Regions from separate parts of the Homo sapiens genome. Here region 1 is linked to region 2. Evidence: promoter capture Hi-C in 16 types of primary human blood cells and fetal thymus (Javierre and others, 2016). All regions are on one chromosome and are shown on one strand. Each heading gives the region's core, a stretch centred on a gene start or on the middle of the fragment in contact. The rest is flanking DNA. Distances are from core to core; before and after follow the strand shown.

Region 1 (5,217 bases), core at 2,696-5,195, 49 kb before region 2:
TTTCTATTTTTAGTAGAGACAAGGTTTTTCCCTGTTGGTCAGGCTGGTCTCGAACTCCTGACCTTAGGTGATCCTCCCACCTCGGCCTCCCAAAGTGCTGGGATTACAGGCGTGAGCCACCGTGCCCGGCCTGAATGTAGTATCTTTCTTCTGTTTTCTTTTCCTGCTCTTTAAAAAACAACCTTCAACCTCTGATTATTTATTCCAACAACAGCTCTTCAGTAGGGTAAAAGTCTTAACAGTTCTTCAAACGAACAATATTCTTTTGTATTTTTCTTCAGAGATAGCAAATGTTATAAATGGCCTACTCTGATTTAAAAACCTAAGTTCCGATGATGATGAAACATTAACTCTTAAATATACATTTTGATTTATAGCAATAATAACAATTGTAACAACAGCAATTAAGAACAGCATCTGGTGAATTCTTGGCAATGTTTCCTGGTCTCAAAACAGTAAGAACAATTTGAAGTCTGTTCTTTAGAATGCCCTACTCAGCTGCATAATGTTTAGAAAATTAAAGAGTCTGTATTTTAAATATTTTTAGGTAATTATTGCGGGACATTGTCTTATGGTGTCCTGATGTACGTGGGGTGTGCATGTGTGTGTGTGTGTGTGTGCATGTGTCTTTGTGTGTGTGAGAAGGACAGAGAGAAATGTATGTTTCACTGAAACATTTGAAACGACCAATTTCACTTTATTGTGCCTGTAAAATGTTAGTTTTAAAATAAATAAAAATAATATGAAAATAATTGATGGTTTTCTGTTGATTTAGTTTAGGTTACCCTGAAAAAAGACTGAGGTAGAGATTTGTATTTAGGAATTCCACTGGGAAAATTGGTAGGGGTGGCTGGAGCTGGCTTGCACTGTGATAAGAACTAATTGTGCACATTTCTTTCTAATTCCTCATTCAGTGACATCAGATTGGTAGCTTGAAATTGGCCACAATGGGAGTATTTACACCATGGAAATTGGCAGACACTACAAGTCAGGGCTCTAGAGAGCTGTCTGTTAAACATTTACTAGCACACCACTGAGACCACCTACAATGGTACAATACAAACGTAAGAGTAAAGGAACAGGATTGGAAAGAGGAAGAATTTGAACTATGATGTTATCATAGCAAAGGCCTCAGCCAATTCCATGGAAACTGGGCAACTGAGATGGTCCTTTAGGGTCAAGTCAAAATGACAAGGATGCCAGATGCAAGCTATCAGTAGAGGTGTGGGGCCAGGCATTACCTTGGGCAGGTCTGTTGAGCTGACAACAATGCCTGGGAAGGGACTCAGCTGTGATTTATTATTTTTTAAATGATTTCTAATTGATCCATTTTTTTTAAAGTTTTATATCAGAAAATGTTAAACATACGTAAAATCGAATAGTATAATGAGCCCACATGCACCTATTACCCAGCTTCAAACATTACCAATTTATGGCCAGTCTTTTCTTCTATTCCCCAACCCATTTCACTCCCTCTCTCACCAGATTGCTTTGAAGCACATCCCAGAAATCATATTATCAGTAAACATTTTACTGAGTATCTCTAAAAGGAAGGGGTGTCTTAATTTATTCTTCTTTTCAACCTCATTAAAAGATAAGTCTTCAGGATAACAAAGGCATCAAAAGGAGTCAAATGTTAACCTTTTCTTTCCCTATTGTATAGCCTGCATGTAAATTCCCTGGATTAAAACTAGAAATTATTTCTAAAGTCAATACGTGGTGTCTTGAAGGACAATAAAGCAATCATTTTTAGACACTTACCACATGCCAGACACGATATTAAGAACTGCAACATTATCTTCCAAGTACTCTTGTAGAGATTAATAATGGCTTCATCTTGGAAGGCAAGTATATTCAAGTTATGAGGGGATTAACAGTGCATAAAGAGGACTTCCAAGACTTTGATGGTAGATTGTTTTTTCTTAGAATGTTTATCCTCTTCCTTATCAAATCAATTTTCTTAAAAAGTTATTTTAGCTAAACGTTATATATTAGCAGGAGTAATTCAATCAAGAATAAGGGAACAAGTGAAACCAGTTTCATTTGGAAAAGGTTGATTCCCATGCCAATCTGGGTTTAATGTAGGGACTGGTTATTCTAATTTTCATTGCATCCTGTGGTCCAAATGGGAGGCTGAATTCTGACATTTGCAAGTCAACTGCTCTGAGAAGTTATCACAGATACAAACCAATAAAATATCCAACAACAGAAGTTCAGAATAGGAGCAAAAGGAGACTTTGTTTTGCTGTGGCATATAACAGCGCTCCCTTTTATTCAGCCCAGCTGCTAATTTTTATATCAAAAGTATTGATTGAAGGGGCTAGTGGTTTTGGCCCTCACCCAAGTTTATTCAAGATCTTTCTTAATTAGGTTTGGGTCGGCTGCAGTGCCCATGGCCAGGGATAGGTCTGGCTCCAATCATCACATCGTGCTCTTACTTCATTATGGGCCAAGAACTAAGGCAAGGAAATGGCTGCTGCTTTGTTTCTCCAGCCCAAATGTGTGGGGTTTTTTCCCAGATCTGAAGCATGCGTGGACTAAAGGCATAAGGAAGACCAAAGGATGTGTAATGGCTTCGCTGTGATGAAATCAATCTACCCTACAACTTAACTATGACCCCAGCATGAATAAGGCTCTGTGTGTGAAAAGTGAATGGGTAGCAATGTGGGGTCATGGAAAATGCTCCTGGCATCATTTGAATAAAAACTTTTCAACAGGCTGATGCAGCCAATCAGTCTATCAGTTTTTTTGCCCTTTTAAGGGCAAAATAATCTCTGCCAACAATACATGATTTCCCCTTAATGTGTCTGTTTTGTAAATAATTGTGGTTGTCATACAACTATTTTTATAGTGTCCATCTCAATTTTATATAATTTACACCAGTCTTTTAAAAAAACGTTATACATGTAAAGCTTCAATTAATCATAGCCACAAATTATAAGCACCTGTAACAAAATAGGTTTCTTTCATATATAAAAATGTGTTAATATTTTAAAATGAAATTCAGTTCCCTCTAAAATATTTTCAACAAAATATCCATGAAGAGTTTTTAACTCTAAAAAAATTATCAAATAAAACTTCAAAATATAGATTTTTAAGCGATGTATTAATGAGACAATTCTAAGTGGGACCAATCAAAGTTAAAGATTTCCTATATAGATGAGGCTATAACTGCTATATACAGTCAATGTAACAGGTACATAATATAGAAAAATGAAAATATTTTATTAAAGTGGGTCCATTTCTAGTAAGATGAAAACTAACATTTTCAAAAGTTACACTGATTATTTGAGCATCTATTGTTTCTAATAGCGAATTAGAGAGGAAGTATGACTGGTATTGACATCAGTCAACATGGCTCTCGATTGTGAATAGAAATAGAAAGCCAGAGATTACCAGTTATTTGATGAAAACCAGCAATACCAAAGTGGGTAGCCAAGGAGAAAAAAATGAGAAATATCTTACTGACTGAAACAGACAATTCCTGGAAAAGTTAACTTTTTAAAAGTTCTAATTATGATCTTTGTAGGTCAACCTGATTGTATAAAGAAATTACATCCACAAAACAAGAATAGGCTGATATGTAAAGGAACCCAGAGTTTATAAAAATTAAAAATATGTAATATTAAAGTGGTGAAAATCAATAGAAAGCAAAGAAGAAAAAATCTTTGAATCTCAGAATATAAAGCAAAGGCCAGAAAAAAATAGAAAACATGAGAAAAAATGTAAAACGACAAAGAGGATACATACAGGAGGAACAATATCCATCTAATAAAAACTTGAGAAAGCATTATAATCCCTGAGGCTGAAACAAAATGGAAGATGAAAATGGACTAGCAAGTGCTAAGCGGATGAATATAAAAAGATTTTTATCTAAATACACCTTCATAAAATTTTTACTATCCCAAGGATAAAGGGAAGAACTTAAAATTGTTTTCAGCTAGAAAAAAAATTTTCACCTAAAAAGGTAAAAGTAATTGCTTTTACTACTGAATATTATAAACATGGAAAGTTCATACCAATTTTCACATCTGTTAACAGTGTATAAGTTATCCATTTCTCCAATCTGCACCAATACTATTATTATTTTTATAACATTTGTCAATCTTATAGGATAAAAAGGGGTTCTCTTTCATAAATGATGTCCATTTATAGTGATTTCTTTTCATATATATATACTGGCTGCTTGTATTTGTCTTTTGCACATTTGTTTGAATCCCCTGCTACTATTTCTATTGTAAATACCTCATCAGCAATACCAGATACTAGAAGACAACAAAGCACTGCCTTCAGAATTCATAGGGAAAATACTTTTGAATCTAAAATCCTATGTCCAGAAAAGTCTGTCTAATAAAGGGAGAGTAAAACGGGGATTTTTTTAAATGAAAGATTCAGAAAGTTTACTTCAGTACCCTTCCTTTAAAAAATTACTTGATGAATACTTCAATAAACACTTCCAAGTAAAAGAAAGACATAGTATCCAGGAAAGAGTGAAATTAATATAATAGTATAATGAAAAGAAATTTTGGAATGATAATTAAGGTAGATTAAATCAAAAGGTGATGGGTAATTTTTTGCTCAAGTCCCACTGGGTGTCCCTGGTTGCCAAGCAATCTCCTCCACATGGTGTTTCAGGGACCCAGGCTATTTCCAGCCTGTGGCTCCACCAACCCCTAGGACTTTGCCATTGCATGTGTGGTTATGGCTCCAGGTTTCAGCCTGGGGAAAAGAAAAAGTGATCATGGAAGAGGGCTCCCTTTACCCTGTATGATGATTGACTTAACTCTGACTCTTTAGACACATTGAGAGTGCTGGCAAGCCCTATTTCCAAGATCTCAGGGGAGCATCCAGAGATCTATAAAAAGCAGAATTGCTGCAGAGAATGCCCTAATATCTTAGTTCCTAGAGATGTAACCCTCCTATCCCAAAGCTGCTCCAACACCAACTTCATTTACTCACATCAGACAGATGAAATCTTATAAGCTTCATCCATTCTCCAGCTACAGAACCCAGAGTCATGACCACACAGCCAGTTGGTCAGCAGGTTAGACCAGTTACTTCTTGCGTCATGTCTCATTCTTATCAAGTATGGATGCACTCACCTAGTTCCTCAGGAAAGATATGCTTACTTCTGTTCACAGTGTACAAGGTGGCTGTAAGATGTGAATGCTCTCAGCAAAGGCACCTTTGAAATGGATGGGCTAGGCTGGAGGAGGG
Region 2 (4,984 bases), core at 62-2,561:
GGAGGCGTGCCGTCAAGAAAGAGTTGATTATTTATTTAATTTCATTCACCAAGGGAGAATTCGGAGGCTCCATCCCGGAGGCACTGGGGTCCGGGACGCGGGAAAGGCTTGGAAATGTGCGACGCGGCTGTGTGCGAACGCGTGGACTAGGTCTTGGCTCGCTGGGAGGGAAGGGCTGGGCCGGCGCTGGGGAGGAGGAAGGGAGGGAACGGGTAGGAGGAGGGGAAGCGCAGTATAAAAGTCCCGGCCGGACTGAGCGTCCGCTACTCCGAGTCACTTCGGTAAGGCGGGAGCCCGAGCAAGGTCAAGGAGGGAAGTGCGCGGTGCCACGGACCGACACAGTTCGCTCTAGCATCTGACGCTCGGACTCCGCGCCCTCAGCCGGATCCCAGAGCCCTTCCATTCGCCAACCGCCCACTGCAAGGCATGAGCCGCACGCGGGAGCCCGAGGCTGCAGCGCGGTCATGAGGCGGTGGCCCGGGATCGACAGCTGCGCGACGCCAGCCCCCAAATCCCCTCTGGGCGCGGCACCCCCGGGATGAGCCCCCCACAGAGGCAAGCCCACTAGAGCTGAGATTCACTCCGAGTTCCTGAGCGCCTGAGCCGCGGGCACTGCGTCTCTGCAGCTTCCAGCCAACACCTGCGCCCGTGACCAGACGAACGCCTAGAGAGTCGGACTCCCCTCCCTTCCCAGGCTCTACGGGGCGCCGCGGATCCGCGAACAGCCGTGCCCGGCTAGCGGGCGGCCCAGCAAGTGTCAAGACCCTTCGGAACGACACTTTGGCACTCCTCCTCTCCCCCGACTGCTTCAGGCAGGGGTCGCAGGCAGACGCATGGCTTGTCCGGCGCCCCCTCCGTTTTCCATCACTGCAACTCCAGCTCCAGTTTGCCAATAAAGGTTTCTAAAGCAGCCCAGGCACCACCCCACCCACCCACAGCCCCGAGCCTCAGTGTGCACAAGGGCTCTACCCGCGCCCGTCACAGCGACCTCGGCAGCGGGCACTTGGTACAGCCCGGCAGGCTGACGCTGCCGCCGAGGGCGCCCCGGCTACCGCCAAACCGTGACAACCTCGGTGTGCCCGGGGCCCCCATCTGGAACCGGCCCTCCCCGGGACTCCGAGTGCGGGGCGGCGCGGCAGGCGGCCCCGAGGAGCGCGGAGAGTAGTGGAGGTGGCTTGCCGGGTGAGTGGCTCGGGGCGGCGAGGGCGGGGGCGCCAAGCGTGGAGGTAACTCCCGGCCGCAGCTGAAGCCCTCCTACTCCTCCTCCTCCTCCTCCTCCTCCTCCTCCTCCTCCTCCTCCTTCTCCTTCTCCTCCTCCTCCTCCCCGCGCTTCTCTGGCGGCCGCTCCCGCTCCAGCTGCGGCGCCGCGGCCACATCTGGGGCGCCCATGTGCGCTCGGGGGCTCGGCTGCGCCCGCCCCGCCGCCGACCCCGCAGCCCCCTGCCAGCAGGGTGGCCTCCGGCCCGGCCCGGGTCCCGGGCTGTCCCGGGACCCAGTCTCCGTCTCCGCCGCCGCCGCCGCCAGGCAGCGCCGGGGCTTGCTCCGCAGCCGGCTTGGACACCCCCGGCCTCGCGGTGGCTCCGCCGTGGTGCGGCGGCGGCGGCGGCGGCGGCGCCGGCAGCTCCTGCTCCCCCGGCCCCGCACACCCCGCCGCGCCCAGCGCCAGCCCCGCGGGCCCGGGAAGCGGAGCCCTGGCGGGAGCCGAGGCGGGAGCCGCGCTGCCGGGCTCCCGGGCTCCTACTCCTCCTCCCCCGGCGTCACCGCCGCCGCCGCCGGCCGCCGCGCCGGGTCCTAAAGCCGCGCGTCTCAAAAGGATGGTGCGCCTGGCGGCCGAGCTGCTGCTGCTGCTGGGGCTGCTGCTGCTCACGCTGCACATCACCGTGCTGCGCGGCTCGGGAGCCGCCGACGGGCCCGACGCGGCCGCGGGCAACGCCAGCCAAGCCCAGCTGCAGGTGAGTGCGCCGCCGGAGAGGGCCGTGCGCGGCTGCGGGGACGGTTTGTGGGGCGGGGGTGCTGAGCTAGTGCCGGGTGGATGCAGGGAGGCAGGTCCCCTGCCCCACCTAAGAGCAACTGTTTTGGCAGTAGTTTTGCCCGGGCCACTTGACTTAGGCAGAGGCGGAGCGGGGGCACGTGCCTGGAGGCTGCACCCGGCTTCCAGGTCTGCGGGCTGCGCTCCTTCAGTTCTGTCTGTCACGGGTCAGGTGCGGGGTTGGTGGGGAGGTGGGAAGGAGCGAGGTTTGGGATGAGCAGAGGAAGTGTGGAGAATGTGCTTGCTTGGGGGTGCTACCAGTCTTTCGTTGCCCTTCGGAGGCTGAGTAATGTTACTCGAGGCTGGAGGGACGCAAGGAGACTTTATAGGATGATATCCCTGAAGTCTTTGGGAGAAAGAACTCCGGGAGTCTACCCCTTTAGGAAGCAATGCCAAAGGTCAGGACATAATTTCCCAAGGAGAATAGCCAGGCATCCCCTCCTCACCCTCAGGGTTCCCTTGCTTCCAGTGTTCCTCTTCCTCCGGGAGCCTCGCCTGAGGTTCCCCCCTCCCCCCTTGTGCCCCCTTGGTCATGGGGAAGGTGCAGAGTGAAGGCACCGGTAGTGATTTGGGCCAGGGTTACCTGGGGCTTTTAAACTTGTAGCAAAGTCTTTCTCCCAAGGATCTTCCCCGTTGAAGGTCGCTTTAGCAATGGGATTCTGTTTATCCATTTCAACTTCAGGGCAAGGAGAGGGCGTAGTGGACGGTCAGACATAATGTGAGTTCTGACTTAGGAATAGAATTGCCCAGCTAGGCATTTCCTGCCGCTATGTTAGCGCCTTTCCTTGAGTCTAGGGGTGGGACAACTGTAAACTTGGAGCATAGGCAAAAGCAAGCAGGGATTTTCCCAGGAGGCAGAGGGGATTCTCTGGCTCCTAAAATCTGCTCAAACCAGGCGCGGTGGCTCACGCCTGTGATCCCAGCACTTTAGCAGGCAGAGGCGGGTGGATCACCTCAGGCCAGGTGTTGGAGACTATCCTGGCCGACATGGTGAAACCCCGTCTCTACTAAAAATACAAAAATTAGCTGGGCGTGGTGGCGCACGCCTGTAGTCCCAGTTACTCGGGAGGCTGAGGCAGGAGAATTGCTTGAACCCGGGAGGTTGTAGTGAGCTGAGATCGCGCCACTGCACTCCAGCCTGGGCGACAGAGCGAGACTCCGTCTCAAAAAAAAAATAAAATAAAATAAAATAAAATAAAATAAATAAATAAATAAATAAAATGAAATAAGCATTATTCATTGTTCCCAAAGGCCTTTATATTCATTGTCTTTGATAATTCACTTTTTACATCTTTATACAATTTATTGCGAAAAACTTTACCGTAAAGAGAAAACTAATAAAACACTTCCATTGTGTTTACTACGTGCCACCGTTTTAAGTACTTTACAGAATTTAACTCACTTAATTTAACCATAATCTTACAAGACATGGTACTGTTAATATAGCCTCATTTACAGATGCAAAAACTGAGGTACAGAGAGGTTAAAAAACTTGTCAAAGTTCAGACATTCCAAACTCTTGATTACACCAAATTTTGTCTCTACCAGGATAGACTAAAGCAAGGTGATTATTGCACGCAATTACAAAACAGTAGAAAAGTACACACCCCAAAGCTTAAAGTTGTTTTAACTTTGAGACATTTCTAAAAATGTCCTAACTTTGTGGGTTCTCTCACCTTCTCCCGTGGGTAGATAAGTACAGTGACAGACTGAGGGAATTTCTATGCGGAAGTTGAAGATGCCACCATCCTATAGACTGGGGCACCCACCAATCTAACACTGCGGAGATAATTCTTAATATCTTCAAGATTTCTGGAAGTTATATTTTATACATGATGCTTTCTTTCCTCATGGACTCATGAAAAGCCATAAAAATGATGTTCTGTGGAAAAGTAAATTTGGCAGATTACTTTATGAGGTGTTTGCTATCATTAGAATAACCCGGGGTTGGCCTTTTCCGCTTGAACAGTAAGGTAATGAGAGAAGCAGCTGGTGGAAGTGGCAGTTCTAAAAGGGAAGTGGACTGAATTCTCAAAAGGGGCTTTGGCTGAAGAACTGCCCCAAGAGGACACAACAAATGGGGGATTTAGAAAGAGTTATGCTCCTAGAAATATCTTGAGTCCCAAGTAGCTGCTAATCCACCAGCTTCAGCTTATCTTGTAATAGTGTTCGGTGAGACTGTCCACTCAATGCACACACTTTTCCAAGCAGAATGATGAGTTTAGCAGTTTAGTTCATAATTTTGCTGTTTTGTAATTTGTTATTATAAAAGTTTTATACTCTTCCTGACCAAAGTTATTTCTTTGGCCCTCTGACTCTCTGAAGGTATTATAAGTCAAAAGAAGAATGTTCTGCCAAATGAGGAGGTCTGCAAAAGACATTTATTAGTCCATCGTTTTCAGGCCCCAGAAAGTGAATTTGCTAGTAGCAGGTGTATTTGAAGACAAAACTGTGGACACTGTATTCTTTCTTTTTACCAGACATTTTAAACCCAAGTCTTAAACATCATCTAAATTTGTTGGTTCTGTGCTATCCTGAGCTACTAAAATCCTTCTTCACAATCAGAAAATTAATCAATCCATATACATCATTTTTATTGTTTTTATCTCTGTGTACAACCTTCTAAAATATAAGGTTGTCTTAGTCAGAAATATGCAATGGTGAGTTTATTTACCTGAATTGTAGTATGTTTGTATTCACTTAAAAAGGGACACATTCTTATTTAAGGATATATCAAGGACGCCCAATAAAGTAGTAGTAAGAAAAGCAACAATAATAGTTAAGATTTATTAAGTGCCTTTTATGTGGCAGGCACTGTTCTTAGCACTTTACACATACTAGCTTTCTTTCTTTTTTTTTTTTTTTTTTTTTTGAGACGCAGTCTTGCTCTGTCGCCCAGGCTGGAGTGCAGTGGCGCGATCTCTGCTCACTGCAACCTCCACTTCCCGGGTTCAT

What was found. The method cuts DNA at HindIII sites, captures the fragments that hold promoters and counts their contacts. A CHiCAGO score of 5 or more calls a contact.
Region 1: a fragment that was not itself captured here is called in contact with the fragment with the promoter of ISM1 in region 2 in 1 of 17 cell types (naive CD4 T cells); the score reaches 5.1 in naive CD4 T cells.

Annotation. Positions count from the first base shown.
Region 1 is chr20:13,168,352-13,173,568 of GRCh38, forward strand. It overlaps SPTLC3 (serine palmitoyltransferase long chain base subunit 3), which reads left to right. Exons shown (of 12, transcript NM_018327.4): 12 at 1-752. It also overlaps a transcript of TASP1 not described here. Among named protein-coding and RNA genes, the nearest start is that of ISM1, 50 kb to the right of the region's middle. The HindIII fragment of the contact is 2,071 bases long and covers 2,911-4,981 here.
Region 2 is chr20:13,219,963-13,224,946 of GRCh38, forward strand. ISM1 (isthmin 1) reads left to right here and starts at 1,312. Exons shown (of 6, transcript NM_080826.2): 1 at 1,312-1,952. The coding sequence starts at 1,815. It also overlaps a transcript of TASP1 not described here. RefSeq lists silencers at 1,095-1,214, 1,674-1,743. The HindIII fragment of the contact is 8,964 bases long and covers 1-3,641 here.